Regions from separate parts of the Homo sapiens genome. Here region 1 is linked to region 2. Evidence: promoter capture Hi-C in 16 types of primary human blood cells and fetal thymus (Javierre and others, 2016). All regions are on one chromosome and are shown on one strand. Each heading gives the region's core, a stretch centred on a gene start or on the middle of the fragment in contact. The rest is flanking DNA. Distances are from core to core; before and after follow the strand shown. Region 1 overlaps SND1 (staphylococcal nuclease and tudor domain containing 1). Region 2 holds the start of ARF5 (ARF GTPase 5).

Region 1 (7,107 bases), core at 614-3,113, 480 kb before region 2:
TCGTGAAGGCCACTGCCCAGGATAAATTCCTTCTTTGATTTTCTCCTGACCTCTTTCTTTCCCTGCTAAAGGGGCCTATAAATGTCTTTGCTGCCAAATGTAAAAACTTGTATTAATTTAAATGCCTTCAAGCTCGATTAAGCAATAAAATGAATGTCTAAATACCTGGGAATTCTCGAGGTCGGAGCTGGAGCTAGTGACAGAAGGTTAGAAGGGATGAGGGATACTGGGTGACATGCCTCCCCAGAAGGACAAGGAGGTGGTCTGGGTGTGCAGAGAGAAGGTAGCGGGGAGGAAAACAGGCAGGGCCCGAGAGGCAGGACCCTCGCTTCCTCCCATCCTTGAATACCCTCTGCGTCCTTGAGGCCCACATTTGATCCTTCAAGAGGAAATGCAGGTTCAATGACAACTGAAGTTGGAGTGTGGTATAGAAGGGGATATGTGGAGTCTATTAGAGTTATTAACGAAAAAGAGATAATGGAGAACATATAGGTCCAGTCCATGTTGATTCTGTAGGTGGCACTGGAGAAGTGTAGCTATTAAGGGACAGAGCTGAGAGCAGAATCCAGGTTTCCCCAATGCCTTCTCTACACTGCCTCCTGGCAGAAAAGACCCTGCCCCTCCCTAATACCCCCTTTCCACAGCCTTCTGTTTCAGGAGCAGCCCTTCCTTCCACTGCCATACCTCTGCCCCCTCCACCATCCAGGACCGTGGGACCCTGCAGCTCACTAGTAGAGTCTGGGCGTAAGTGCTGGCCCCAATTCTGGGCTGGGCTGACCCAGTGCCTGAATTCACGACAGAGTCCAGTGTCTGTGGGTGTTAAAACCAGTTTCTCCTATCTCTAATTTTGGCAACTAACCTGCTGAAGGACCTACTCTTGTAGGAGAGAAGGGCAGGTGGGCAAAATCTGAGGTTGCTCAGGTTTCAACACCTTGGATCCACCTTGCAAATGCCCAGGGCGCTGGAACAAAGGAGAAGCTTGGCCACTGGAAGACTGAGCGCCTCCTCCAGTGGGAGGCCAGGAATGGGGAACAGACTGTCATGCCTGCAGGGGCTGGGGGAGGTGGCGGGGGTAGTGTGGTAGGGGTGGACAAGACCTGTGAGGGGCAAAATGATACATGAGAAGACTGTCTCTTGCTCATCTTAACTTGCCAAGCTTTATCAAACATGCTAAGCTCAAGAAGCAGCAGGTCCTAGAGGAATTCTGGGGAAGCTGAAGGAAGAACAGAGAGGTTGCTTGCCTTGTGTTTAGGGGTTCCTGGACACATGTCTGGGCAAAAGCAAATGAGGCTGGTACAGTTCCCAGCCAACACTGAGCCCAGGCCCACATCAGTTTCCGCATTCCCTGACCTCTCGTCTTCCACAATTTTAGTAGCCAAGTGTCCTTTCCCTAAAACCAAGGATGTCTGCCCTGCTTGGACACAAGGCCTCTCTCCAGGCCTGGCAGGCCACTAGACAGCTTGTGGTGGGCCAGTGTGGCTCTTAGCACTGGGTTGCTGGGGTTGGTGCAAGAATGTCAGAGATACGCTGCAGAGGCAACCAACCAGGCACGCACAGTTGCTGTCTATCCTGTGAGGTGCCAATGCTCAGACCCCAACCCACATGGCAAACCCCACATTCACACCTCGCTCTCTGAGGCTGCAATCCACATGCTCGCCTTTCTCCAGGGCTTACATGAGAAGGAACCCAGCAATGAGCAGCCACACCTGGGGCCAACACTGCAGGGTGCAGCCGGGCTCTCCTGCGCAGGTGAGCACCAGCTTCACACTTAACCAGCCTGTCGCCTGCAATCGATATGCTAACTTGGGCTTGACAAGTCCCTGGGCCCAGCCAGCCGCAGATGAAAGAAATCTCTGGCCTTGGGCACAGTGCTGCCACCGAATCCATCCTGGGTTGTAGATGGCGATAAAGCTGTCGCCCATGGGGCTCTGTTCCCTTTTATTACAGCTGCCACAGCCACAGTAATTTCTCAATCAAACAAAGGCACTCGGGGAAGGTGGGCTGGCTCCTCTCTAGCCAAACCCCATGCGGTGTCTCTCCTTCTCCACAAACCTCAGCCTGGACGAGGCTGTGGAATTCGGTGTGACGCTTCTTGAACTCTGGGAGAATTACGGAGATTGAAAGCAGAGGTTTAAGCAGGTTGTATGTGTGTGATCATCCTTTGATGTTTCTCTTTTACATTGACTGCCAGGAAGTTATGACTTAACTGTAACATTATGTGGGTCTATGTTTGTACAAGTATTATTTCTTTGTTCAACTCAAGGATTCAAATTTCTCTGACATCTTCTCTTAATTAAAAGATAGACACAGAGATATATACATACAGTTCAATTTTGTTATTTATGGTAATTTTGTTCTATAGAGAGAATTTGCAAATATTGAACCATTGCTCCTAGGGGAAATGCAGGTTTGGGTTCCTGTGAGCCTCTGGTCACAATATTTTCATCAAATCAATAAATAACCTTGTTCTGTGTTTCTGTTTAAAGACACCTTGTCTAATATGTGTTGCTGGCTCATTAACACTGAACTCATGGCCAACAGCACAATGACTTATGCCTGAATGAAGCTTATCTAACACATGTATCTTCTCCATAAGGCACATCCTAGTATTTCTGCACTCAGGAACACTAGACAGCACTTCAGCTCTATGCTGGGGGCCATTTAAGACTGTGAAACCACCAACAAAAAGCATGAAAAATGCAATAACATGATGCTAAATAGATTGTGAGAAGGACACTTGTTTATATCATCAGAGCTGAAACAAGAAGGCAGAGTGTTGTCTTGTTCTACCCTGTTCCACCTAAAATGGAAATGTGCCCCGCCAGATGACTCAATTTTTTTTGTCACTCTGTGCATGTCCACAAATGACTGCAAAAGTACCATGAGTATTGATTTTGGGGTTACAAAAATAGATTTTGGTGAATTTGCAAATATGTAACCGGTGAATAATGAAGATCGACTGTATACTGTATAGACACATAGAGTTAATTCCCACAAGTTGCCTCAAACTGGAGACTATAAAGAGACATGTCTCACAAGTTGCCTCAAACAGAAGACACGTTAGGGGAGGCTCATTCCTGTAAATAGACAAGAAATTTCTTCTTGTCCAACTGGCTACTGCAAGCATTAAATGAGATCCTACTGGTGGAGTGTTGTGTAATTTGCAAACTGCTATAACATAGCCACTCATCTCTTGGGCATCTTGGAGTGTTTCAGGAAGAGCTCTGGACTCAATAGCTTCCACAGGAGGCCTCCTATAATGGCAGGTGACTTTAGGCCTTAGGTGACTTAGGTGACTACCACAGGCTGCTAGAAGGCTGGGAGCAGGCTTCGTATGAGAGCATGCACTGACGTGCACATGTGGGTGGATATGGCCTTGAGGGCACCAGAGTATGTGTGTGCATGTACACAAGCAGCATGGGCGAGGGACAGATGAGGGCTCTCCTCTCGATTCCCCTCTACTTAGTGCCCATGCTGAAGCTGAGACCTAGGAAGACACATGGTTCTGGGGGAGGGGGGTACCTCCCGAGAGACTATAAGAAGGGGCAGGTGGTGCCACACTGAGGAAGGGGCTTGGTGGTAACTGGTTAAGAAGCGAACAGCCTAGAGGCTTGAAGGTCAATGTGACCTTCAGATGTTGACAGCCATTGCAGTCTGCCTCACTTGCAGCCCTGCTGGTCTGCCAGCATCTCTTGCTCTCTGCTCTTGATGCTGGCAGAGTGGGTGGGGATTTTGAGGTTGCTGAATACCTGGACTGCACCTTTGCCCGCTTCAATGCCACTTTCTCCGGGAAGGCTTCCCTGATCCCTGGCCTACCATGAATCACCCTCTGAATGCCTATGGGTTCACCCTCCCTTTGGCACTTGTGGGGCAGTGTACAGCATGGAGGTTATAAGTGTGGACTCTGGCTCCAGACTATCTAGACCTGCATGAATTCTGGGGTGCCACTTAAGTTCTCCGTGCCTCTATTTACTGTAAAACTGGGATTGCAACATCATCTACCTCAAGGATGTTATGATTAAATGAACTAATATAAATATGTTAAGCACTTAGAAAAGTGCTTAGCACATAAATGCTTCAACACGATCATCATAAATTATTTACTTCCTGGTAGGGGCAGTTATTTCATTTCTAAATGTCTTCATTCTCCAAGTAGACTGTCAGCTCCATGGGGAAGGAAGCTTGTTCCAGACTGTGAAATTTCTCCAGAGCTGAGCACACTGACTGGCCCATGAGGTGGCAGAAAGAGCATGGATTCTGGAGTCAGATATCAACTCCCAGTCCTAGCTGTGAATTTTTGGGTAATTCACTTGACCTCTCTTAGACTGTTTCCTTAATGGTAAAATGAGGAGGGGTCCTGTGCACTGAATGAGGTAACAAAACTGCTTCCTCTTCCCTTCAACAAATGCCAGTGATGCCCTGGTGGGATGGTTACATTCAGCAGCTGTCCTGCTTTGCTGAGCTGTATACCTCTGATGAGAAGGGTCTTCTCATCAGAAATGGCCAATCCCTGCTTAATGAGCTCCTTTATTCTCCCTGACTCTGAAAGCTTTGGGTTTCTTACACCCGGGGAGTCCTCCCATGAAATACCGAGTGAAGGTAAGGCAAGTGGGGTTGATAGGATGAGCTCAAGTGTGTGACTGTCCCTGTACCACCTGCACAGATCCCTTTCTCTTCAGTGGAGGTCTTTCCCCATCACAGGGCCAAAGCGGTGGGTGCTGCCAGCCAGCCATGCCCTGCAGGAGAGCAGCTCGACGCTGGACCTGGCCTGACTGTGGGCTAGAGCAGCCAGTGGGCCCTGCTGCCTCACAGTGGGACGTGTCCTCCTGCTCCCAAGCACATTAATATGCCACTAATGAAATTGTTCTGGCTTATTTACCAAATTAATACAAACGGCACAGGCTGTTAATTTCCATGTCTCCTAATTACCGAGGAAGAGCTCCCCATGCCCAGGCAACACACATACCTCAGTGATCACCCAGCCGAGCTGTGGTCTCACCCTTCCCAGGGATGAGGAAGGGGAGAAGGGGGAGGAGAAAAGAAGAGCATGGAGCAGCCCCCAGCTCCGTGGCTGAAATCAAACATGGAGGAAGGGGGTGGCCAGGAACTTGTTTCATTTCCTGCGGCCCCTTTCTGAGCAGTCTCAGTGCCCTGGGCTCCAGAAATATACACTTGGTCCCTGTCCCCACCCCAAACTGTTCCTCTTCTCCCCATTGTCTGGATTCTGTCAGCTCCTTAAAACAGAAACTACTTCAGTCAAACAGGCAGTGGGGACCAAGTCCTTCTCCTTCTCTAAGCAGTGAGGCATATTCTTGGCCTGGGGTACAATGCAGGGCTGAGGGGTCTGGAGAAAGGAAGAGAAGTGAAAGCCAGGCAATGGATGATGGCTTTAGAAATGTCAACATTCTCAACTTCTTCTAGCCCTCTGCAATTAGACTTCAGATTCTGAAATCTTTCCTAAAGAAAGAAGGGTTTGGGGTGGGGGGAGGGAGAGAGTGAGCATGTGCATGCATGTGGTAAGTGTGGGGAAGATTATTTAAGAACTCAGCTTTCAAACCACGGAGGAAATTCTGACTGCCCTGGGGGTTGATTTAGCTGTGTCTGTCCTTAACTCGCCTGGAGCCTGCAGCCAAGCTGGATGCCTAGTGCTTCCAAGTAGGCGCAAAGCTGAAGATCCAGGTCCCTCTCCTAAAGCCTCCTCCAGGTCATGGTGAAGTTGCGGGGAGGGTGAGGCGGGAGAAGGTGCACTGGAGGCTGCTTCTGGTAAGGCTGGCTTAAATAAGGGAGCCGAGGGCACTGGGGGCAAAATAATTAAGAAATGGAGACTAGAGAAAGACAGCAGGGGGATGCACATTCCCCTTGATGACTCAGGGCACCCAAAGGAGAGCGTTCACACAGGGGATTTACTAGCAATGGGGGGAGGACAGGGAGACCCCACACACATACAAGCCTTTCCCTTTTTACTTTCTGGGAGGATGGAGAAGAGATACTGTCTTCCCCAAGTGCACAGGCGTTACTGCAGTGCACAATGCCTGAGGCAGTACAGAAAATTACTGAGCCTCAGCCAACCTCAGAGCCCTGGGTTGCGAGGCTGTAGGTTGCCTGAAAACAGTTGTGGAGGATGCTCCCGTACCAAGGAAGGTGGGCTGCCTCAAGCAGGACAGGCAGGTCCCAAGTAGAAAAGAGCCCAGCACAGGGCGCCACTGCCCTGAGGCATCTGGGAAGGAAGTCACTGCACAAAGTGGGGTGCTGGCTGTAAGTTCTTCCAGGTAGCAGGGTGGGGCTGCTCAGGGCTACCTGTGGGAAGGTGACATCAGAGTCCCCACAGACAGGCTTTAGAGGCAGAATTCTCCATCATTTCCATGTGCTGTCTGGCCATATTCCTGCTTTCAATATTCCTAAAGCAACCAGCAACAATCACAGCAAGCGGCCTGGATGGGAAGAAGGAGCTGAGGAGCAGAGAAAGGCCCTGGGCTAGAACTGTGATCCAGGTGCCAATCCTGCCTCTTATGGGCTGGGCACACTGCACCTCTCTTTGGGCTTAGTTTCTCCATCTGGGAAATGAGAGTTGAACAAAGTTTCCAAGGTTCTCTCTGCTCTGCATTCTCTGAGGTCAGAGAATGGGGGCAGCAAAGCTGACAGACTGTGCCTGCAAGCCAACAGGAGAGATGAAAAGCAACAGTTCCACAGGAGAGAAGGGCAAGCAGGGAAGCCCCATTTGCTAACGATCAAGTCCTGTAGGAGAACTTGCAGGGGGGCGCGGGAAATGGAGAGACGGGAACTGAATAATGACTCGGAGCCCAAGGTACTCCTGCCTCTTCCCAACCCACTCATCCTGGCTGCAGCTTTTTTCAAGAATGTGAGTAGTGTTCTGGAGTAACCAGCATGTAGCTTGGGTCCTTTCCTGCCATGCAGTGGTAGCCTTGCCCAAGGCTGGGTTTTCTACCATCACTGATGCTGCGTGAAGGCTGTAGCATGCTGCCACAGCCAGAACTGTGAACTTGAAGAGATACCTCACCTTAACACAGTAACAGTTTAACACAGCCAGCTCATCCCCTCCACTCCCGGTCACACACAGCCACACCGACTTCTTTCAGAGATGATGAA
Region 2 (7,241 bases), core at 4,307-6,806:
GTGACTGTATTCTTGCATGCCTCAAAGGTGAGGTAGGTTCCTGCCCAGCTGATGAGCCCAACCCTTAGGTCCTCAGCCTTGGGATGTCTGTGTATCCACTCTGTCTCATCCATGGGGCTGACACCACAGGTGATGTCTCCGTCTGGCCCAGCCCTCCCCCCCGTGGTGAGGTTCCACAGGCCATAGGGCCTGGAATAGGGCCTGTAGTACCCACCAGATGTTCCCAGAGAGAACTTCCCAGGCAGAGGCTGGCCTGGGGCCCAGCACCTCTGTGACCCGGGAGCATTGTGACTGTGAGGGCAGCCTCTTATCACACCACAGTGGGGAAAGGGCCCTGGCGCAGCAGCATTAATCCATGGCCTAGAGGAGGCGGGTGCAGAGCCTCCGGTGTTTGCCTTCCTATTCCCCTTTGGGCACCAAAGTAGGCTGAGCTGAGACCAGGATCCGGAACTTCAACCTGTGAATTTAGGCAAGTTTTTTCCTTTCTTTACCTCCGTTTCTCATTCTGGTAACAGGATAGAAAGCAACCTCCTTTCTCCCAAGGAAGTGAGTTCTGCCTGGCTCCCTTGCAACTCAAGTATTTTGTTAAGTTCAAGATAACCAAGAAAAATCTATCAGCTTTTATGGCCCTTAGGAGGATGAGGTCAAAATGTTCCAGATGCTATTTTGCAGGGAGTATGAGGAAACCCTAGTTAATCAGTTGACATCAAATTACTCATATTCATCAGGAAGGCTGGCTCAGGACCTGGGTAAGGAGAAGGGCCTAGGTGGAGAGAGCACCAAGCACCCCTCCTCAACCCCAGCTGCTCTGCCAGTGGGTAGGACATCTGGCTGGGCAGATAGAGCTCCTGCAAGGGTATCTTTCCCCTCCAAAGAATCTCTGAGTTATAGTCTCTTGGACTCACTTCCTGCAAAGCTTGAGGAGAAAACCCAGCTCAGAACCTGGAAAAGTGACATGAAAGAAAAACAAAGGCAAAAACAAGTGATGATGAGTTCTGCCTAAGCCTGGCTAGGATCCAAGGGAAAATGGGCAGTCGATCACACTTGGGGAATAAGCCACACCCCTGGTTCCTTTTTCTGAGTCAGGGTCTTGCTCTGCTAGCCAGGTTGGAGTGCATCTCAGTTGACTGCAGCCTTGATCTCCCAAGCTCAAGCGATCCTCCCGCCTCAGCCTCCTGAGGTGCTGGGACCACAGGTGTCCATCTCCATGCCCAGGTAATTTTTTATTTTTGTTTTTTGTAGAGATGGGGTCTTGCCATGTTGCCCAGGCTGGTCTTTAACTTCTGGGCTCAAGCAATCCTCCTACCTCAGCCTCCCAAAGTGCTAGGATTACAGGCATGAGCCACAGTGCCCAGCCACCCGTGGTTCCTTATACCTGCTTTCCTATTCCCCATAGGAGGGGTCTTCCCAAGTAGCAAGAGTCTCAGTGGTGTGCAGCAAGGAACTACAAGCCCCAGACCCCACCGATGTTTTATAAAATAAGGGTAATAGACTATTAGTGGCAGAATTCCCTGGGTAATTTTATTTATTTATTTAATTTATTTATTTATTTTGAGACGGAGTCTCACCCTGTCACCCAGGCTGGAGTGCAGTGGCACGATCTCAGCTCACTGCAAGCTCCGCCTCCCAGGTTCACACCATTCTCCTGCCTCAGCCTCCTGAGTAGCTGGGGCTACAGGTGCCTGCCACCACGCCTGGATAATTTTTTGTATTTTTTTTTTTCTAGTAGAGATGGGGTTTCACCGTGGTCTCGATCTTCTGACCTCGTGATCCGCCTGCCTCAGCCTCCCAGAGTGCTGGGATTACAAGCGTGAGCCACTGCGCCCGGCCTCCTCTGGGTAATTTTAAAGATGCATATTGTTGGGCATCAGACTAGTCCTGATGAATCACATTTTCTGAAATGTACCTCAGGATTCGTATTATTAACGCACATTCTCTCCCCCTCTAATTTTAATGTGTAAGGCAAACATTAAGAACGGCTCTAAGTAGCTACGAGAATGATGGGAAACAATTACGTGGTTCATGGAACTATGAAGGGAGATCCTGTAATCTTCAGCAAAGGCTCCTTGGAGCTGGGAAGGAATGAGATTTGCACCACTGTAAACCCTACAGTATTTCCAGCCCAAGAATAAGGAGGGAGAAGCTGAGCTGAGGGTATGTGTGGGTGGGGTTGCCCTGCAGCCTTAGCTGCTTTGATCCTCTCCCACGTTGTCTCTTGGTACCCAGTAACCTAGCCTCTCCTTTGCAGGCTACAGACAACACCGTGTACAAACCACAGCAAATTTATTACTCAAGATCCAGTGCCACATTATAGCACCACCCGAAGCCCTCACCTTCCCCCTCCCAACCTGGCCCCTAGAGTACACCCAAAACAGAAAAAAAAAAGGAAACCCAGATCCCTGCTCCTCCTCTGGAAGAGGGGGCCTTGGCCAGGAAGCCCCTTCCATAGGTCCCAGCAGGCAGGAGAGTGGACCCCTCTGTGCCCAGAGAGCAAGGCTCCAGGCTCCAACAACAGAGAGAACATGCAGGCAGGAGCAGGAGCAGAGGCCTGTGGCTATGGGGGAGGAAAAGTGGGAGGAAAGGGCACTGCCTGAGGAGTCCGGGAGTCTGGTCATCCCGGGGATGCACGCAGGAGCTTCCGGGCATCAGGGGCCTGCCCCTGGCTGGTTAGCGCTTTGACAGCTCGTGGGACAGCCAGTCCAGACCATCGTACAGACCTGTGCCTTGGGTGGCACAGGTGGCCTGGACATACCACTGTGGGGAAAAGGAAAGAAAGAGGTCAGCAACCAGGAACAAAAGGAATGCCTTTATATCTCTGTCCCAGCCTGCAGCTTCCCTCAAGAGGCAGGATTCAGCACCAGGTGGGCAGGACCCCTACCGTGCGGCTGCGTAAGTGCTGTAGCCCCAGCTTGTCAGTCAGCTCGCTCACGGGCATGGCGTTGGGCATGTCCTGCTTGTTGGCAAATACCAGCAGCACTGCATCCCGCAGCTCGTCCTCCTGCAGCTGAGAGAGGAGAAGAGAAGGTGGGACCCAGGCTGCGTCTCCTCTACTGTGTTGGGGAATTCCCTTTCTACCTCCTAGCATCTTGATTGGAAAAAAAAAGTATTGTGCAGTCTGCCGTTGAAGACAAGACATAGTTGTAAATGAGCTTGAGGTGACCTGAGCCCATAAGTCCAGAAAAGAAAGACCTTTTCCTAATTTGAGTACTTGCCTAGGCAAAATGACAACATTTCCAAATGGAAAAGGCAGGAATGTAAAATGTTTCTCTTTGCCACATATAAGTCCCATCTCTCCCACAACTTCTCAGACTCAGATGTAAAGACATGAGAATGCGGCCGGGCGCAGTGGCTCACTCCTGTAATCCCAGCACTTTGGGAGACCAAGACGGGTGGATCACCTGAGGTTGGGGGTTCAAGACCAGCCTGGCCAACATGGTGAAACCCCGTCTCTACTAAAAATACAAAAATTAACTGGGCATGGCAGCGGGCGCCTGTAATCCCAGCTACTTGGGAGGCTGAGGCAGGAGAATTGCTTGAACCCGGGAGACGGAGGTTGCAGTGAGCCGAGATTGCACCATTGCACTCCAGCCTGGGCAACAACAGCAAAACTCCCATTTCAAAAAAAAAAAAAGACAAGACAATGCACAGAAAAAGTGAAAAAGTCACTCCCATCCAAAACAGGGTGAGATACACAATGTGTCTGTCCACAAAGAAAAACTTATATTCCTGGTCTTCAATGCCTGTTGGGGGCTCCCTGACTTCTATACCACTACAGAGATCACTCTGTCCCCAAGCTGAGGGCTCAGTTCCCAGGGCTCTGGGTACTCACCATCTTCTGGAGTTCATCAGCAGATTCTTGGACCCGCTCCCGGTCATTACTGTCCACCACAAAGATGAGGCCCTGGGCAGGAAGGAAGGAAGAAAGGAGAAGCAATCACTTCTGCCTGGGACATACCGTAGTGTGGCCCTTTCTGTTTTCTTCCCATTTGTAATTGTGTCAATCCTTCTCATCTAGTAAACTCTACAGAAGTTTACAGAACTCTATAGAAGCTCTACAGGAGTCATGGCACAAACTAGAGACCCCACTGCAAAGAGGAAGTAGTTTATCCAAAGATGTGCAAGGAAATAAAGACATGTTATGAGGGCTAAATCAGGCAGCCTGGTCCCAGAATCCTGCTTCTAAAGAGAAGTCCAAGCTGGGGAAGACTAAGGTGAGTTCTGAAGAGTGAGTAGGGGATAGCCAAACAGAAGGGGTAGAAGTGGGGAAGGGTTTTTTCCTTGGCCTGGGGGCCCAGCCTAGGCCAACAATTCTGTTCTCCCAGCCCTAACACCTTTTCCCGTGGGGTTAGAAAGTCCCCTCCCAACACTCCACCTGAGTGTTCTGGAAGTAGTGCCGCCACAGAGGCCGAATCTTGTCCTGGCCTCCCACGTCCCAGACTGTGAAACAGATGTTCTTATATTCCACTGTTTCTACATTGAAGCCTGCAGATAATTGGAAAAAAAAGATGAGAAAACTCCTGAAAGAAAGGAACTCACTAAAACTACTTAGATTTCAGCAGGGACACAAAACCAGAAGGCAATGATCAAGGCCCAGGGGAACAGAACCCCAGAACTGGCGGTCAACAGGGCGGGGCTAGGTCACATCCACCCTGCCTCCGGTATCCACGTAGAGATACCCTGACCCACTTCTCAAATAGCTGTATCTGGTGTCAGGGTCAGCTCCAGAAAAGTGGCAGAACTGGGAGCAGACCCCGCGAGGGCCCGCCGCGGCGCTCCCGCTCCCTGCTTCGTCCCCGGGCTCACCTATGGTTGGGATGGTGGTGACAATCTCCCCCAACTTCAGTTTGTACAGGATTGTGGTCTTGCCAGCCGCATCCAAGCCAACTGCAACGGAAAGGGGCACAGGGATGGAGATGGGAGCGAGGGAGCCCCCTAGAGACCAGGGAAAGGGAGAGGCCACAACAGCTGATGGTGACTGGGGCGGAGAGCGGGAGCGCCTCCAGGTGCGCGTCGTTATCTACCTTTGAGGCCTGGAGGGCAGTCGGGTGGCGTGAGCCAACTCCAAAGAGGGCGCGGAGCGGGAGAGGACTGGGAGGCAAGGGGCACGGGAGGTAGGCCGCGCTCGTTTTAAAAGTCGTCTCCAAGGGCGGAATCCTCCCTTCTTACCAGCCGGGCTGGGGCGGAGGGAGCTTCACCCCACCCAGGCCCGCAGCTCCGGGTGTCAGGCCCCGGGGTCGGCGATGCAGACCGGGACCCGCCCGAGAGCAGAGGCCCCGGGGCGTTATGAGGTGGGTGACTCGGGGCCAGAGACCCAGGTGAGCGGGGCTGGAGGGACGCGGGGGCGGAAGGGCTGCGCCGGGGCCGGCGCCCCGGTCCGGGCCGCGCGCTCGATCTGCCTCACCCATGAGAATCCGCATCTGCTTCTTCCCGAAGATCCGCGAAAAGAGCGCGGACACGGTGAGGCCCATGGCGGGGCCCGGGGAGGGGCGCGGGCACCGACGCGGGGTGCGGGCTGGAACTGGCCGGCCGCGGGGGGATGGGGCGCAGCAGCAGCAGGAGGAGGCTCCGCCGCCGCCTCCGCGCGTCGCTGCCCTCCCGACGTCACCGCGGGCCCGCCCCCGTCCGGGCCCCGCCCCCGGCTCTCGGCCCCGCCTCCCCCGGCTCTGGCTCCTAGGGGAGCTGAAGCTCCGCGAGTTGCCGCTGCTGGCCTGGGTCCCGTGCGGCCCTTACTTGGGAACGGGTCTAGGTCTCTAACGCGCCTGCCAGGCCTGTGGCCGCCGAACCGGCAGCCCGAGCGCGGCTGAGGAAAGGATTCATCGCTCCGCAGCGGCCCCTGCCCCCATTTTCAGTGGCCGGCCGCTGGGCTTTGGTTTGTTGCGTCCAGGCCCCTAGGGGCTCCGGTTTTAGCCCTTGGGAACCAGTAGCACTGAACGTGTGCACCACTCTCCTTTGGGGAGTGGAAGCTGCGATTAGGGGTCTTGGTCCTCCCTTTACTGCCTCATCTTCCACCGAGGGACTTGCGCGTAGTAGGTGGTCGTGTGAAGAGTGCGCGGGAGGTAGGGGAAGGTGCCCGAGTGCTAGCTAGCTTCCATGGTTCCTCAAAACGCCTACTTCCTAATTCCCAATCCGCAGAACCAGTGTAAGATTCCCGGCCTTGGGCGGCGGGGTCACAGACCCACTCCTGGGCTGTTGGAGAAGTCCACCTTCGTTTGGATCGCCCTGCGGGCCCCGCCTCTCAGTCCAGGCGCTGGCCGCTTTGCCGAAGTTCCTCACTTTGCCACAGACTTGTGGACCTGGCTTATTCTTGCACATCCATTCAGGATTTTGTGAAGATCTTGACTCCGTAGACCCAAAGAGCTTCACATGTCATTTCCCTGCCTCATTTTAACATCTGAGAGGAGAATAGCAAAATAGGAATGAAATTCTTCTGCGGTGGAGACTGGCTCATTGCCAGGCATTATTAGGCCTAACAAATGCTTGTTCAGTTGAACTGGACTGATAGATTCTCAATGGAGCGAGGGTAGGTGTTATGTCTACTCTGGATTCCCAGTGGGCTTCTAGGATCAATTGTTTATGGACTCGAGGTAAACTGAGCTGGGAATAAAAAAACCTTCACTCATTCATTTGCTTTTTCAGCAGATATTTACTGAGCACCCACCACTTGCCAGCACGTGATTTCAGGCTTTAGTTCAAATCTTAATTCTGCCATTTCTTGAGGATTTGGCTTCAGCACTCCTCATAACTCTTCCGTTATTTCATCATCTATAAAATGAGACTTGTTCTAACTTAAGGGGTTATGGTGAATCTTAAAATGATTTGATAATGTGACTGAATGTTATGTATAATACAGCTTGATGTTATTTGGGCCACTGAGAAACGGGGTCTGAACAGACCTCCAGGGCCTGCCCCATCCTGATCTGCAAAGTCTGTAACAAGGACAGACTTTGGGAAACAGGTATGAGTGAGTGAATGACTTTCCTTTTCTCTTCAGTCATAGACTTGCATCCCTAAGAAGGCTTTTACGAGGCTGAAGAGTACATTTTAGAGAGTTCCAATATAATAACAGAACTAGTGTTCACCAAGTTAGGTCAATTCTACATTTAGCTCTTTTATCAGCCTCTTTGCTTCCATCTCTGTTGTCACTACCTTCTGTTCCCCATGACTGAAAGTCTCCTCACAGGTTTCCTGCCCCTTGTTCCCTCCAACATGTCATACAAGTCTTGATGACATCCCACTTTTCA

What was found. The method cuts DNA at HindIII sites, captures the fragments that hold promoters and counts their contacts. A CHiCAGO score of 5 or more calls a contact.
Region 1: a contact is called between a fragment that was not itself captured here and the fragment with the promoter of ARF5 in region 2, in 2 of 17 cell types (fetal thymus and M2 macrophages). The highest score is 6.5, in fetal thymus.

The regions. Positions count from the first base shown.
Region 1 is chr7:128,066,636-128,073,742 of GRCh38, reverse strand. The region is part of intron 16 of SND1 (staphylococcal nuclease and tudor domain containing 1); the gene reads right to left. Among named protein-coding and RNA genes, the nearest start is that of MIR593, 12 kb to the left of the region's middle. RefSeq lists an enhancer at 6,888-7,107. The HindIII fragment of the contact is 1,410 bases long and covers 1,159-2,568 here.
Region 2 is chr7:127,586,726-127,593,966 of GRCh38, reverse strand. ARF5 (ARF GTPase 5) reads right to left here and starts at 5,556. Exons shown (of 6, transcript NM_001662.4): 1 at 5,402-5,556; 2 at 4,804-4,884; 3 at 4,373-4,482; 4 at 3,830-3,901; 5 at 2,879-3,004; 6 at 2,267-2,754. The coding sequence starts at 5,468. The coding sequence ends at 2,668. It overlaps LOC105375490 (a long non-coding RNA gene), which reads left to right and starts at 4,121. Exons shown (of 5, transcript XR_007060511.1): 1 at 4,121-4,211. FSCN3 (fascin actin-bundling protein 3) reads right to left here and starts at 231. Exons shown (of 7, transcript NM_020369.3): 1 at 1-231. The coding sequence starts at 113. LOC105375489 (a long non-coding RNA gene) reads left to right here and starts at 1,727. Exons shown (of 3, transcript XR_007060513.1): 1 at 1,727-1,838; 2 at 1,963-2,154; 3 at 4,016-4,098. RefSeq lists enhancers at 4,230-4,855, 4,856-5,482, 5,483-6,108, 6,109-6,735 and a silencer at 5,230-5,719. The HindIII fragment of the contact is 7,240 bases long and covers 919-7,241 here.